Regions from separate parts of the Homo sapiens genome. Here regions 2, 3 and 4 are each linked to region 1. Evidence: promoter capture Hi-C in 16 types of primary human blood cells and fetal thymus (Javierre and others, 2016). All regions are on one chromosome and are shown on one strand. Each heading gives the region's core, a stretch centred on a gene start or on the middle of the fragment in contact. The rest is flanking DNA. Distances are from core to core; before and after follow the strand shown.

Region 1 (3,854 bases), core at 796-3,295:
CGTCCGCCTCAGCCTCCTAAAGTGCTGAGATTACAGGCATGAGCCACTGTGCCCCCAACAGATCTGACTTTTTAGAAACGTTTTAACTTCAAAATAATTATAGATTCAAAGTTGCGAAAAGATTTACAAGGGTCCCATGCACCCTTCCAAGCCACCCCTTACCTGGCTGTCTTTCCTCATTGGGCAGGTGAGAGATGGTGGCTCTCTGTCCTGAGGGCCAACACTCCAGGAACCCTTACCTCTACATGCTCAGTCCTCACCGACAAGGACTTCCGGGTGACAAGGCCAGCACCACGCACAGCTGCTGCTAAGCTCCTCACGTTCATTCACTGAACAAATATTTACTGGGCCCCGATCATGTGCCAGCAACTGTTTTTTTCACAAAACATTCTCTCCACGGACCTTACTAACTCACAGTAAAATATTAAGTATGATAAATGCATTAAGCAGGACACTAGGAGGATTCAGCGCTGTGGGAAAATTAAGCGAGGAAGGGAACTGGGTGGCAAGGCAGGCAGGCAGTCGCCAGGCTAGGGGGTTAAGGAACCAGGCATTCCAGGAAGATCCAAGGACAGAGCATGTGGCTCTGTTCAGAACTAGCAAGGAGGCTGATATGGCAGGTGCAGAGTGAGTCAGGGGCCAGTCTGAGGGTGGGTGGACTCAGACGCTGCAGGCTCATTAACACCCTCGCCAGGGGTGTCCCTCAGAGTCCACACAGCCAGCAACCAGAGCGGGCCCCTACAGCTCTCTGCTGGGCCAGACGCCAGCTGGAGCCACCCCGAGTCCTACAGCACCGACACAAGTGAAAGGGGAACTCAACCGAAACTTCCCCAAAGCCCTTAGATCCAGGCTTCTAATTTCATCTCTTGTTTGACAGACTACTCATTCCTGAAACTCAGCTGACATTTTTTTAAAAAGAGAAGCAAATAAACGAACATAAAATCTCAGAAGCTTTGAGTAAACTTTTGCCTTCAGGTAACCATGACAATAGTGGGAGCAATGTAACTGTTTTTGTCATTAGAATAGGTTTTTCTAAACAGGCAAATAAGGGCAGACGTGTCTAACCACCATCAAATCTTCCCAACCAAGCCTAAGCCGGAAAACAAAAATAAAGCTGAAATTTTTGCTTCCTTTTCCTGTATGACACAACTGAATGAATTTGAGAAATCATGGCTTCGGCACACGAAAAAGAGAGTCTTTAATCCAGACACTTAACACCAACAAGTTAGAACCTGAACGGACGAGTTCCTAATACTCTCCTTAAGAGTTCAATATAAAGCATGGCTTCAAATGTTTTTATAAAGCGGAGAAAACAGGTTTTTTCTAACAAACCAAATGCTTTTTGGAATTTACAACGTCGGAAAGATTAATTTACGATGCGTTACAGAACAATTTTCAATTCCCCGAGCTATAAACACAACGACCCAGGGACTAAATTATCTGCCTCCCTAAGACCAGCGATGGCCCAGCTTCTCCAGTCCCCCCGCAGGAGAGGAGACCCCGGGGGGTTGGGGGCGGCCGCGGGGACCTGGGGGAGCGGAGGGGGCGTCCGGGCCCGAAGAGACCCGCGGAGAGCGCCGCCCCAGCCCCCACCACGGTGCTCAGACCCCCGGCCCGGCCCGGCCCGGCTCCCGCAGGCCCCGGCGCCGACCTTCCCGCGCCCCCGCCCCGGCCCAGGCCGCGGCGTCGCAGCAGCTCCGGCCCCGAGCGCCCGCGCAGCCCCGGCCCGGGGGTCGCCGCCATTTCCGGCTCTGGAGTGCCGCCCCCGCCCCCCACCCGCGCCCGCCCGCCCGCCTGCCCGGGCCTGACGTGGGCCGATCCGCCCGCCCGACCCGCAGCGAGCTCACCTGCCCGTCCGCCCGCCCGCCCGCCCTCCCGCCGGCTCCGCGGCTCCGCTCCCCGATTCGCGGCGCTGCTGGGCAGCGGCCGACGCACTCCTCAGCCTGGAGACCCCGGGCGGCGGCGGCGGCGGCGGCAGAGGGCGCGGGTGCGGCACCGGCAGCGGCAGCGGCAGCGGCAGCGGAGACGAGCACGCTCACGCACGCACCCGCACCGGCGCGCGCGCTCCCGGAAGGACGTGGGCTCCGGCGTGTCGGAGCCGCGGGTGGGACCGGCTGCGCATGCGCTCAGAGAGCCGAGCGGAGGCTCCGTCCATGAAGGGGCGGAGTCCCGAGTGACAGCCCGGGGCCGAGGCGCCCTGTGGAGGCTCCGCCCATGAGTGGGCGGGGACGAAGCGCGGGGGCGGAGCCAGTCCTCCCAGTCTTCAGGTGGCCGCAGGTGGGTCCCGGGTGGACACGCCATGTGCTGCGGGGAACCGCGCAGAAAGAGAAGCGCAGGGCTTGCTGGTCTTGCAGGTGAGTTTACTCAGCGCTTTAAGTAAGACTGAGAAAACGTAATCGTTCTCATCAAAGAACTGAACAGGGAGCTGGTGGGAGACGGCTGCGGACCGTCGCCCCCGCCCCCACCCGGAGCCACCGTCCTGGGACTGACATTTGCTCAACCCTGGAGCGCCGAGATGGGACGTCCTTCCTTCCTTCCTGTCCAACCACTGAAATGCCGTCGCCAGCGCCCTCCCACCCTCCCGGAATCATCTCCAAACAGCAGCGTGGAGAGGCAGGACCACGAACGTCCACTCCACCTCCCTCTGCCCTTGCCCATCCCGTCGGCCACCCTTCCCTGTCCCTGTAACTGCAGGCGCTCCGCCACTCACTGACGGCCTGCCCCGCGTAGGCTGCCTGGGCCACTTCCCATCCTAGAAGCTCCCAGACCTCTGCGGCCGGTGCTCCTGCCTCCTCGCTTCCACCCTTGCCCGTTTACCTGAGTTCAGTGCGGTCATCTTTTTAAAACAAACCCAGTAGCATCCAAGGCTTCCCGTGACACACTGCGTGAAACCCAAATTCTCTCTCAACACGCTCTGGCCTCCTTCCTCTGCCCTCATAACTCACTGCCATAATGCCGGTCTTGAATTGCCAAGCTTGTTCCAGTCTCACAGCCTGGAAGTGTCAGAGCTTGGGAAGCCTCCTAGCAGTCATTAAGCTGCGCAACATCAAGCAGGCAGCAAGAAAAGGCCTATGGAACCCAAGAAGCAGAAAGGCCAGGTTCATATCTACAACTATAGATTCCAAGAGAATGAAATATTTCAGGCCAGAATTGGAGGGATGAGAGAATGAAATGGGCCTGGTACCGATCTCAGATTGAAGCTATATTCCACTTGTGCTGGGAGCTGCAAGAATGAATGAACCAGCCTTAAGTGAGTCCCTCTGAGACCTAGCAGTTCCACTTTAGGGACATTCTTCCAAAGAAAATATTCCTAAATACAGAAAAAGGTATATGCACTGAAATATTCATGAAGGCACTATTTTTAATAGCGAGAATGGAAACCTGCCCAACTGCACAAGTGAGCACTCAAATGGAATAATATAGTTACTGAAATGTATACAACGGGACCCATGGCTCACGCCTGGAATCTCAGCACTTTGGTAGACCAAGGCAGGAAGATCACTGGAGCCCAGGAGTTTGAGACCTGCCTGGACAACATAGTGAGACCACCATCTCTATAAAAAAAAATTTTTTTAATTGGCCCGGCCACAGTGGCATGCATGCCCCTGTAGTCCCAGCTACTCAGGAGGCTGGATCGGGTGGGAAGTCAAGGCTGTAGTGAGCCATGATTGTGCCACTGCATTCCTGCCTGGGTGACAGAGCAAGACCCCATCTCTTATTTAAAAAGAAGAAAAAAAGAAAGATAATGTGTAGAAAGGCTACACAGGAGCAAAGAACTCCTGAAACTAAAATGAGCACGATGCATGATATGTAAAAAGTATATTATCACACATATATCTATCCATGAACATTCC
Region 2 (3,854 bases), core at 549-3,048, 320 kb after region 1:
ACCCCAGACTCCTGAGTGTGACTCTATTTCTGGACTCTCTGTTCTGCCTTGGAACTGTGTGTCCACACCGGGTTCAGTGGCTTTGCAGTGTGTTATGTGTTTAGTAAGTCATGCCAGCACCCGCTGGGAATCCTTTTTAGTCATCATCCTGGGCTGGGTGTTGGGATTCAAGCCTGTAATCTAATCCCGGCACTCAAGGAGGCCGAGGTGGGGGGTTTGCTTGAGCCCAGGAGTTCAAGAGCAGCCTGGGCAACATTGAGAAACCCCATCTCTGAAAAACATAGAAAAAACTCCAAAATAGTTAACTGTGGTGGTGTGCACCTGTACTGTGGTGGTGTGTGCCTGTAGTCCCAGCGACTCAGGAGGCTGAGGGGGGAAGACTGTCTGAGCCAGAGGTCGAGGCTGCAGTGAACTGTGATTGCATCACTGCACTCCCGCCGGGGCAATGGAAGGAGACTCAGTCTCAAAAAAAAAAAAAGCCCTGTCCAGCCTTTCTTGGTGATGTGATGCTTTTCCAAATGGACTTGAAAGTCAGTGTGTCCACCATGCGACTGCAGGTTAGTTTAGGAGGAACTCACGTCTTTGTGTGGTGTTGAGCCTCTCCATCCAGGAACACAGCGTTCCACACAAATTCTCCCAGCGTTCCACGCACATGGACCCTGCTCAGCGCCCGGCCCCTGGGGCTGCTATTGTCGAGGGCCTGCCCTCTCCCAGGAGCTCCAACGTGATTGGTCTGCGGAGAGGCTCCCTGGTGGTTGACGGCCCACCCAGCCGACCTCCCGAGGTCGCTGTGAGCCCCCAGCCTGGCCCTCCCCACGAGGTGCTGGCCTTGGGTGGCAGCCTTGCTTCCTTGTTTCAGGGGCAGCATCACTGTCCGTTATCTACTGCTGCAGAACAGATCGCCCCAAAGCTCAGGGGCTTAAAACAACACAGATGTTTATTTTATTTATTTATTTGTTTTGAGATGGAGTCTTGCTCTGTTGCCCAGGCTGGAGTGCAGTGGCGCAATCTTGGCGCACTGCAACCTCCACTTCCTTGGTTCAAGCAATGCTTCTGCCTCAGCCTCCCGAGTAACTGGGACTACAGGCGCCCGCCCCCACCCCTGGCTAATGGGACGTTTATTTTAAACATAGACATCTAACAGCTGGGCGTGGTCTAGGTGGGAGGGTTAGGCCTGGGGTCTCCCTGAGATGGCAGTAAGGCTGGGGCTGGGACTCGAGCTGCAAGTGGGCTGGAGGCCTCAGCTCCTCTATGGGGCCTCCCCACAGGGCTGCTGAGGGCCCAGAGCCAGTCCAGAGAGCCAAGAGCCAGGCGTGCTGACTCTGGGACCCGGCGGCCACTTAGCCATTCCTGCCATATCCTGGTTGGTGACAGAAGGGACTTGGGGTCCCAGCAGCACCAGGGCCACGGGCAGGTCCTGCCTGTCAGGGGACCCAGGCTTCCAGGTCAGCTGTGCCTGGATTTCTCCAGGGGCTGATGGTGGAGTCACCAGACCATCCTGCCGTCCAGGGCCGGGCAGGGTCTCACCCCTTCCGCCTGGCACATCATCGGGGCGTCTCTGGTGTGTGAAGGGCTGGACGGGGCGTGGGGCCCTGGAGGGGTGCGGGAAAGGACCCCCACCCCCAGCCGCCTCCGCCTTCGACGGCGCTGGCCCTTCAGGGAGGGGCGTCCTCTGCTCGCTGGCGCTTCCCGAGGTTCCCTCGCAGCGGGGGCCGAGCTGTCGCTGGAGGCGGGGCAGGGCGGGGCGGGGCGGGGGGCGGTGAGGTAATTTCCGCGATCAGCGTCAGTGCCCGGGCCAGAATCGAAACTGAGAGCTCCTGGGCAGGCTCGGCAGGGCAGGCAGCTCCAGGAGGGTGAGCGCGGGGGTCCCAGGGCGGAGGGGCGGGGGCGCGGGGGTCCAGGGGCGGCTCCAGGAGGGTGAGCGCGGGGGTCCCAGGGTGGCGGGGCCGGGGGCGGAGGGGGGGGTCCGGGAGGGTGAGTGCAGCCGGGGGCGCGGAGTCCCGGGAGCCACAGACCCAGCCCGGGGCAGTGCAGCCCGTCCAGGACCAGCACCCTCCGCAGCAAGACCCAGCGCTGTGGTCTCTGCACCCACTGGAGCGCAGGATTTTGGGGTCTCGGCTCCCGTCCTTTCTGGATGGCAGACTCGGATGTTTTCTCAGAGGGGTCCGCGGGGAGTGCCGGGTTCTCATACTGAAGTCTGCCTCCAGTCTGTTGCTTTTAAACTTACTCTTCTTGTAGCATCCCAGCTGCGGTGGGGACCCGGGGACCCATCTCTTCCTGGCACCCTGAGCTCTGGTGGGCACTGTACCCTCCTCTCCGTGAGGCCCCTCCCCAGGTGCAGATGTGGAGTCCTCTTTTCCTGGGGGCCAGTGGTCATTCAATAGAAAAGGAGGTGCTGTGTCCTTAGAAGAGTCAGGAGCCTGAGGCCCTGGGGTGCACAGGACCCCTGGCTGGGGCAGAGGGGTGCGGCCTCCTGGGGGCGGCACTGTGCCAAGGGCTCTGCCCCCTCCAGGGCTCCACAAGCAGTCACCTTGGCTCCTTCTAGGTGGGGCCTGAGACCCTTCAGGAGGGAGGGTCTGGCTGTGTCCGGGTCAGTGAGCCCTGTACTCCCTGACAGGACACAGCTACTGCCAAGGCCTCCACTTGGGCGTCAGGGTGGGGAGAGTCCCAACTCCTTGCTTGGTGGAGAGGCCTCTGCTTGGGCATCAGGATAGGCAGATCCCCAGCTCCTTGCCTGGTGGAGAGGCCGTGCTTCTGAGCTGGGCCTGGACCAGATGTCCTCTGGCCTCAGTCTCACCTGCTCCTTCTGTCGCAGGCTTCGAACCGTGGCCAACAGTTCCAGTGGACTGCGTGGACCCGTGAGCTCAGGAGCCTCAGACGCCTCCCTGGAGAGCCAAGCTGGTGTTCGAGGTGGCGCCTCCAGGGTCCACCCTGCTGCCCAACAGCCCCGCGGCCACCAGAGGGCCGTCCCTGGCCCGGCTGTGTGCCCTGGTGGACCTGTGTCTGGGCTGCTCCCGCTGCACCCAGCGGCTCAATGAAAGCACCTACGTCCTCCGTAGGGTGGAGCATGACTGCTCCCGCGAGATCCTGCTGGCCCGCTTTAAGCAGGCCACCAAGAGCAAGGTCTGGCGCGTGGTGGGCTGCCGGCCCACCTTCCCAAGGCCCCTGTGCTACCAAGTCTGCCACTACTACAGCCCTGGGCTCGGCTGCCGGCGCCACCGAAACCGGTGCACCTTTGCCCGCAGTCGCGAGGAGGCCCTGGTCTGGACCTTCGAGCGTCAGCACAACCTCCAGCGCCTATGGCTGAAGGCGGAGGTGCAGGGCAGCGGGGCCCAGGGAGGGGCAGGCCGGGCGGCCGACGCCATCCTTACGGAGTTTGGCGGCCGCTTCGAGCTGCTTTGCTCCCTCTGCTTCAGGCGCTGTCCCCCATGCATCTGTCGCGTGGACCCCCAGGGGCAGTGCCCTGAGCACGGAGCCTGCCCCTCCCTCCTGGCCCACGTGAGCGCCGAGGGCCGCCGCAAGCAACAGTTTGTGGTGGTGAGGCCGCGGCCCCGGGCCGGCCAGCCTCCTGCCTACTGCAGGTTTGTGGGGCGTGGGCAGCCGTGCTGGCGTGGGGAGTCCCGCTGCCAGTTTGCACACAGCGCCGTGGAGATGGCTGTGTGGGAGGCCGAGCAGCTGGGTGGCCTCCAGCGGGGGGACCTGCTCACACCCCCTGCCCCTGATGGCGACGGGCGCACGGCCCCCCTTGGCCAGCCCCCTGGGGCCCAGCTGTACTGCCCGGCCTGCTTGGTCACCTGCCACTCTCAGGAGGCCTTCGAGAACCACTGCGCATCCTCGGAGCACGCACAGATGGT
Region 3 (3,854 bases), core at 434-2,933, 300 kb after region 1:
ATTTTCTGGAACGTGGCTGGTGGCACAGCTGTGGGGACCACCGGCCAGGTAGGCAAGTCCTGAGCTGACCACAGAAGCATTAGCCTGTGTGTGCCTGAGGTCAGTGCTGCCCAAAGATTGAATGAGGCTGGAGCCTCTGACCCTCGTTTCATGGGTCGAGGCAGGCTCGTTGAGACACACAGGACTGAGACCCTGGACCTCCGGAGAGGCAGAAGAGAGGGCCCTGGGAGGGCGGCTCTCAGCAGTTTGGGCCGTACGAAGCCTTCCTGGTAAAGATGAGGATGAGCGGCAGCCATGGCCGTTGGTGCTGTCCTGCGCCCTCATCACTCTTCTTGGCTGTCTCTGTGCCTTTAGAAGGAGGAAGGTTCTCCTGGAAGTGATTTCCCACCTTCCTCTGCTTCAGAATGAGTCACGCATGATGCAGGTGGACTGGGCCCACCTTTGTTAGCTGTGGGTCACTCCCTTGGGGCTGGGGTAGTGGGACATCCCAGAAAGGCCCAGCCCCACAGACTCTGACGGGCACCTCCAGGACACCCACTGGCCAGCGCTTGCCCCCTTCCTGGGGACAGTGCCGTAGCGTGGGCCTGGGCCGGCTGCTTCTTCAGCAGCAGGGTCCTGCACGCCGAGCTCGCGCTAAGAGGGAAGTAGAGCCCACCCTGCCCTGTGGAGCTGCCAGCGCCTCTGCTAGGCCTGCCCCACGCAGGTGGATGGCCCAGGTCAGGGTGGGCGGGCCAGGTGCCTTCGGCTCTGGGGCCGACCTGGACGCTCCATGCCACTGTCTGTCACAGGAAGATCATGGACTCCGGGGAACTGGACTTCTACCAGCATGACAAGGTCTGCTCCAACACCTGCCGCAGCACAAAGATTGACCTCTCAGGAGCCCGTGTGTCCCTGAGCAGCCCCACGTCGGCCGAGTACATTCCCCTCACGCCCGCCGCAGCCGACGGTAGGTGCACAGGGCTGCTCGTCCTGACCCAGCCCCACCCTGGCCATGGCCACAGAGGGTGACATGCCCCTGGGTGGCCTCCTTGGCCCCAGGCGTTTGCTCACGCCAGGACTGCCGGTCTCCTGCCTGGGACCCTGAGTTGTCTGGGATCAGCCTCCTCCTGCCTCACAGAGGAGATCTGGCAGAATTGCTGCTTTCATTGACAAGGAAGATTGAAGCACTTTTCTTTTTAAGCCATTTTGGTTGTAATATAATAACTCACGTGTGGGGAAGGGTATAGCGAGTAACAGAGAGTGCCTGGGCGCCCACCCGGCCCCCTCCCTCCCACCCCCACGGCCCAGCCCCAAATCTGGACCCGCTTCCCTCCTGACCTGGCGGTTTACGGAACTGCGCGCCTGTGCTCCCGCCTTCCGTGCTGGGTGCCTTGCTGCAGGTATTCCTGCCACTTGGGTTTTTGGGTGACGCTTTAGATACTGTTCCACGTTGGTGTCTGTAGCTCTAAACTGTGGAGAGGTTGTTCCCTAGAATTCTTTCCAGCTTTATGAATAGAGAAATTTTTCTTAAAACTACAGTTAGGCTGGGTGTGGTGGCTCACACCTGTAACCCCAGCACTTTGGGAAGCCGAGGCGGGTGGATCACTTGAGGCCAGCCTGGCCAACAGGATGAAACCCTGTCTCTATTAAAAGTACAGAAGTTAGCCGGGTGTGGTGGTGCATGCCTGTAGTCCCAGCTACTCAGGAGGCTGAGGCAGGAGAATCGCTTGAACCCAGGAGGCGGAGGTTGCAGTGAGCTGAGATCGCTCCACTGCCCTCCAGCCTGGGCGACAGTGTGAGATTCCATCTCAAAACAAAAAAACTGAAGTTAAAGTGAAGTTAGGTCCTGGGCTCCCTGGTCACATCTCTGGGTGGTCTTTGGTGATGTGTTTCCAGCAATGCCACATGCATTGTCCCTAAGCTGCCACTCCGCATTGCTGGCCAGATTGTGTTCCTGTGTGCCCAGGGACGTCCTTGTTGTTGGCCCAGGTGGGACCCAGTTGAGTCCTGTCCTGTCCCGCTGGGTAGGAGAGTGAGGCCAGGGCACTAGGGAGGCCTCACCCTTCTCCTGGGCCCCCTTCCACGTCCTGCTGGGGCAGCCTGGCAGGTTCAGTGCTGAGTCCTGAGAAGCCCAGGACACTTGGGCTGCTGTGGTCAGAGGGGCTGGGTAGAGCCCAGCCTCCTGTCTGTCCTCCCCAGGGCCTCCCCAGCGGCTCCACCGCGTTAGTGTTGGCCCTGCCTGACCGCCTGCCAGGGAAGGAACTGGGCCTTCCACGCCCTGTAGTCAGTGCCTCACAGCTAGGCTGAGGCTCAGCTCTTCTGAAGATGATTTGGGTTCTTTAACCTGCAATCTCTGAGAACCATTGACTTGGCTACTGTGCAGTTAGTAAAAGATGCTGTGCCAGCCCCAACTCGGAAAAACGACTCATTCACGCCCCAAATAATTCCAGATGTGTAATATGAGTCATACTCACCACTGCCATGTCTTTGATGAATGTGGAAAAGGCCAGTATTCCCAAAACATTCAACTGCTTCCAGGTCGTTGGTGGTGGTGTTGGAGAAGGAGTCCTGCTCTGTCGCCCAGGCTGGAGTGCAGGGGCCTGATCTCGGCTCACTGCAACCTCTGCCTTCCGGGTTCTAGCGATTCTCCTGCCTCAGCCTCCCGAGTAGCTGGGATTACAGGCGCACGCCGCCACACCCGGTTGACTTTGTATTTTAGTAGAGACGGGGTTTTGCCGTGTTGCCCAGGCTGTTCTCGAACTCCTGACCTTAGGTGATCCACCCGCCTCAGTCTCCCAAAGTGCCTGGATTACAGGCGTGAGCCACCACATCCGGCCCCGGGTTTGTTTTTTAAGCCAGATCTGTGTATAAAGTCTCTATCAGCAACGCCCAAAATGGCCACATATGAACGACACGCCCAGTTGTGTTCTGCAGGCGCGAGAGAGGGACCCACAGGAAGAGCCAGGACGGTTTCTGTCTCTCAAAGCCCCACTTGTTCTGGTGTAGAAAAATGGAAACATGATAGATACTGAGATTTATGATGACTTCAATGAAGCATCACTTGAAGAGGCGAGGTGAGGGCGAGCCCCACGGGCGACAGACGCAGCCGCAGAGCTCTCGGTGGGAAAACAAGTCAAGCAGAAGGATCACCTTGTCTCGCTCCTGACGGTCCAGTCGAAAGTGCTTGTTGAGTACAATCGTAAATGGACAAGAGGAGGAAAGTGTTGAGGATTTGCTGAAATTGGGTGACGGGTTCAAGGGATTTGTTTCTGCGTTGTTTCTCCTTTGTATGTTTGACAACGTCTGTGATTAAAAATAGCCATAAAATATAAGGCAGGTACACTTTGGCTGTACTAGTGCGTATCCTGTGTTTGTCAGTTTTGTGAAGACAGATGGAAAGGTTCAGAAGGTGGTGTGAGGAGGGTGGACAGGGTATGTGGGGTGTGGGACTGTGGTCCAAACAGCACTCACCCGAGGTTCCCTTTCGGCTGCAGTGAATGGGTCTCCTGCGACCATCACCATAGAGACCTGTGAAGACCCTGGCGACTGGACCGCGGCCATTGGAGGTACGAGGTTCCTCCTTGTGGGCTTCTCACAAGCCCTGGCGGGGTGGTGGAGTCTCTGCCCACCTCGGGCCACACAGGGGCTCCAGGAGTCCAGGTGGGGCCGGCAGGGTCTTTGTGGAGAAAGGCCTGGTTCCAGCAGCATTGTCGTGGGCGCTCTGAGGCTGACCTGCTAGATTTTGGCACTGTGGATGTGTCTGGGCAGTGCAAGCCCAGCACAGTGCCAGGCGCTGCCGGCTCTGGCATGGTGTCCTCGTGGCTATGGTGATGTCCTTGTGGCTGTGGTGGCTGCCCCGTGTAGCAGCACTTTCC
Region 4 (3,854 bases), core at 740-3,239, 280 kb after region 1:
AAAAAAAAAAAAAAAAGAAAACAAAAATGTTGTAGTAATAAAATCCTGCACAGTTGTCTTCGTACACAGTTGTGGCTTAGAGCTCTCCTCTGTGGGTGTCTTGCCGGCTGGTGGCAGTGACGGACCAGGGCAGTGGCAGACACAGGCGCACGGCTGGCGCAGTGCCCTGGAGGCTGGTGTCCCACTTGCTGTCTTGGTTTCCTGTGGTCACTGTGGAAGGTGGCTCCTGTAGGTTAGCTTTGCTTTATGAACACTGAGTAGGAGCTTTTTTTCTAGGATGTTAAAAGAATTTGCTCACATCTTATGCTTGAGTTAACTCTTTGAAGAACAGTGAGAAGTAGAGAGGAAATAATTGCCAAGTTCTCTTGCTTGCTCTGTTTATGATTGTGTCAGTTTTCTTTTGCTGTTTAAGAAAACACCCAATGGCAGGCACCTGTAGTCCCAGTTACTCAGGAGGCTGAGGCAGGGGAATGGCGTGAATCCGGGGGGCAGAGCTTGCAGTGAGCCAAGATTGCGCCACTGCACTCCAGCCTGGGCAACAGAGTGAGACTGCGTCTCCGAAAAAAAAAAAGAAAAAGAAAGAAAGAAACCATCCAAAACTTAGTGGCTTAAGACAAGACATAGTTGTTATTATTTTTAATTCTGTTGGTTGGTTCGTGGTTCTGCTGGTCTGGGCCGGCCTCACCAACCCCTGTCGTCAGCTGACAGCTTGGCAAGGACCTGCTGGTCTGGGTGGCCTTGGCCACAGGGGTCTCTGGAGGGAGGCAGTCTGAGGCACAGGTAGGCTCGGCTGGGTGGCTCTCCTCTGCTTTGCCCGGTCTGTGATCCTCCACCTGGAGGCCTGGACTTCTTTGCCCCGTAAGCCCACAGTTGCAGAGGAAAGTGGGCCTCCTGCTCACTTCTGTTGCCTTGATTGACGCAAGCGACATCACCAAGTGCTGGTTCAAGGGCAGAGCTAAGACTGCCTCTTGGTAGGAAGTTACAAAACGTTGAGATCATTTCTGTGGCCACAGAATGACATTTCCATTCGTCCGCCTCCCGCCTTTTCCTGGGCCTTCCCAGCTCACCCCTTGTGGCCACGTCGGGTCTGGGTGTGGCTGGGGCTTCTTGGTTATGGCACGTCTTGATCCAGAGACTGGTGAACTAAAACCTAGCGACTTCCCCTCCCCTACTGAGCGTGCGGTGGCAGACAAGACAGGACGGGCTCCAGGGCAGGTGGCTTGTTCGAAGGCACCTCACTGATCCAAGATGGGGCAGGGTGGCCCTTTGGCCAGATGCGGCCAGAAAGCTTTCTAAGGTGTGAGGGAAGAGTGACAACCATAGCCCAGGTTGGTCTTTATTCTGAGACCATCTCTTTTTTAAATTTTCTATTTTTTATATTTTTTCCTTTCTTAGATTTCTGTGGGTCAGAACCATTTTTTACCTTGACAGAGTCTTTTGCCAGTGGAGAAACTGGAGACATGAAATGATTTTTTGTTTTTCGAAACAGAGTCTCGTTCTGTTGCACAGACTGGAGTGCAGTGGCACAGTCACGGCTCATGGCAGCCGTGACCTCCTGGGTTCAAGGAATCGTCCTGCCTCAGCCTCCTGAGTAGCTGGGACTCTACAGGCATGTGCCACCATGCCCGGCCCCGTGTAGATTTTTAGTACAGTGCTGGGACTGCAGGCATGTGCCACCACGCCTGGCTAATGGGCTCTCACTGTGTTGCCCAAGCTAGTCTTGAACTCCTGGACTCAAGCAGTCCTCCCACCTCAGCCTCCCGAAGCACTGGGGTTACAGGCTTGAGCCACCATGTCTGGCCGATGCAAAACAATTTGATCCCCTGGGGATTCCTTGTTTGGAGAAGAACCTTCTAGCTCCACTGTGTCTGGAATGTTCCTTGCGAGATCACACTAGTCAGATGTGTTTCCTTTTTTTTTTTTGAGACCAAGTCTCACTCCGTCACACAGGCTGGAGTGCAGTGGCATGATCTCAGCTCACTGCAGCAGCCTCCACCTCCCGGGTTCAAGTAAATCTCTTGCCTCAGCCTCCTGAATAGCAGGGATTACAGGCACCCGCCACCACGCCTGCCTAAATTTTGTATTTTTCGTAGAGACAGGGTTTCACCATATTGGCCAGGCTGGTCTTGAACTCCTGACCTCAAGTGATCCACCACCTTGGCCTCCCAAAGTGCTGGGATTATAGGCATGAGCCACCACGCCCAGCCTGTTTCTTCTCTTTTAAATTGCTGTGGCATAAGGTCCTGCCAAGGTTTCCTCTGCCTCATGGCACAGTGGCCCCTTCCACACACAAGAGCCGGGTCTGGGATGGCATTTGTGCCCTTAGCCTGTGCCCTCTCCCCACGCAGAGGCGGTGCTGTGTGTCCCAGGCTGGGGACAGCAGTGCTTGTTTCTGGCAGTTTCTGAATTAGCCATGCTTGCAGCCTAACAAACCACCGCAGAGCTTGGTGGCTTAAAGCAGCAGACACTGGTCATTTCTTAAGGTTTTCGGGCCTGGGCTGGTGCTGCTGGGCCTCGCCGGGGGGTCCAGGCTGGGCTCACTTGCATATCCGGGCATTGGTGGGCTGGCCGAGGCTCTGCATGTGGTCCTCATCTGCCAGGACACCTGCCTGGGTGTGCTTAGCAGGAGGAGAGCCAGAGTCCTCGTAGGGCCTCGTCACAGCCTCTTGGTCAAAGCTCTTCAAAGCTTGGCCCAAAGTCAAGTGGAGGGGGTGGGAAATAGCCCCCTGTCTTGATGGAGGGAGCCATGAAGGACCAGAGGGCATTTTTCAGTCTGCAGTTGCTTTGCCAGGACGCCAAGGCTCTGCCCTCGCGGGACAGTGGCTTATGGAGCAGTGGAGAGTCTGCATGCGCCTTCTTCTCTGAGAAGAGAACCCCACGTGGCAGCTGAGGCAGGGCTGTCTTGAAGGACTTAAAGATCCTCTTCTTTTTTGTGGGGAATTAAATCTGTTCTTCTACCATCTGGAAATTGAGACTTCCTCTTGCTACATGTTTTTTTTGTTTTGTTTTCTTTTTTTGAGACAGATTCTCACTCTGTCGCCCAGACTGGAGTGCAATGGCGCGATCTCGGCTCACTGTAACCTCCACCTCCCGGGTTCACGCCATTCTCTTGCCTCAGCCTCCTGAGTAGCTGGGCCTACAGGCGCCCGCCACCACGCCCGGCTAATTTTTTGTATTTTTAGTAGAGACGGGGTTTCACCGTGTTAGCCAGGATGGTCTCGATCTCCTGACCTTGTGATCCGCCTGCCTCGGCCTCCCAAAGTGCTGGGATTACAGGTGTGAGCCACCGTGCCCGGCTGGTGTGCGTGTGTTTTTAAGCAAACTTCTGGAAGTTTAGAAGTGCACACATCATACAGTTGGCTGTTATGAGGTGCACAGCTGGGAACCCCACCCAGACCTCTCCCAGCTTCTCCACATCATCTCCCCAGAGGCAGCTGCCCGCACGGGTTCCAGAAACTGGAGACTTGTTCCCTGTTTCAGACAACCCTCATGCCAGTGTGGGAACACCATGTCTGCAGGATTAATTTCTAGAAATGGAGGTGGAGTCAGAGGGGCATGTTTCTAGAAATGGAGGTGGGGTCAGAGGGGCATGTTTCTAGAAATGGAGGTGGGGTCAGAGGGGCATGTTTCTAGAAATGGATGTGTGGGTCAGAGGGGCATGTTTCTAGAAATGGAGGTGAGGTCAGAGGGGCATGTTTCTAGAAATGGAGGTGTGGGTCAGAGGGGCATGTTTCTAGAAATGGAGGTGGGGTCAGAGGGGCATGTTTCTAGAAATGGAGGTGGGGTCAGAGGGACATGTTTCTAGAAATGGAGGTGTGGGTCAGAGGGGCATGTTTCTAGAAATGGAGGTGGGT

Evidence for each region. The method cuts DNA at HindIII sites, captures the fragments that hold promoters and counts their contacts. A CHiCAGO score of 5 or more calls a contact.
Region 2: a contact is called between the fragment with the promoter of HELZ2 here and the fragment with the promoter of DNAJC5 in region 1, in 3 of 17 cell types (total CD4 T cells, naive CD8 T cells and neutrophils). The highest score is 7.8, in total CD4 T cells.
Region 3: a fragment that was not itself captured here is called in contact with the fragment with the promoter of DNAJC5 in region 1 in 1 of 17 cell types (monocytes); the score reaches 5.2 in monocytes.
Region 4: a fragment that was not itself captured here is called in contact with the fragment with the promoter of DNAJC5 in region 1 in 4 of 17 cell types (monocytes, M0 macrophages, total CD4 T cells and 1 more); the score reaches 10.6 in monocytes.

The regions. Positions count from the first base shown.
Region 1 is chr20:63,893,317-63,897,170 of GRCh38, reverse strand. DNAJC5 (DnaJ heat shock protein family (Hsp40) member C5) reads right to left here and starts at 2,045. Exons shown (of 5, transcript NM_025219.3): 1 at 1,848-2,045. RefSeq lists a silencer at 1,964-2,203, enhancers at 2,203-2,730, 2,663-2,832 and a cis regulatory region at 2,747. The HindIII fragment of the contact is 2,023 bases long and covers 954-2,976 here.
Region 2 is chr20:63,572,183-63,576,036 of GRCh38, reverse strand. It overlaps HELZ2 (helicase with zinc finger 2), which reads left to right and starts at 1,798. Exons shown (of 20, transcript NM_001037335.2): 1 at 1,798-1,853; 2 at 2,816-3,854. The coding sequence starts at 3,652. RefSeq lists silencers at 179-364, 1,474-1,753, 2,394-2,453 and an enhancer at 962-1,689. The HindIII fragment of the contact is 21,413 bases long and covers 1-3,854 here.
Region 3 is chr20:63,592,702-63,596,555 of GRCh38, reverse strand. GMEB2 (glucocorticoid modulatory element binding protein 2) reads left to right here. Exons shown (of 10, transcript NM_012384.5): 6 at 789-946; 7 at 3,474-3,545. Among named protein-coding and RNA genes, the nearest start is that of HELZ2, 20 kb to the right of the region's middle. The HindIII fragment of the contact is 6,029 bases long and covers 1-3,854 here.
Region 4 is chr20:63,609,684-63,613,537 of GRCh38, reverse strand. All of the region lies in intron 2 of GMEB2 (glucocorticoid modulatory element binding protein 2), which reads left to right. Among named protein-coding and RNA genes, the nearest start is that of GMEB2, 15 kb to the left of the region's middle. RefSeq lists an enhancer at 2,876-3,045. The HindIII fragment of the contact is 1,398 bases long and covers 1,291-2,688 here.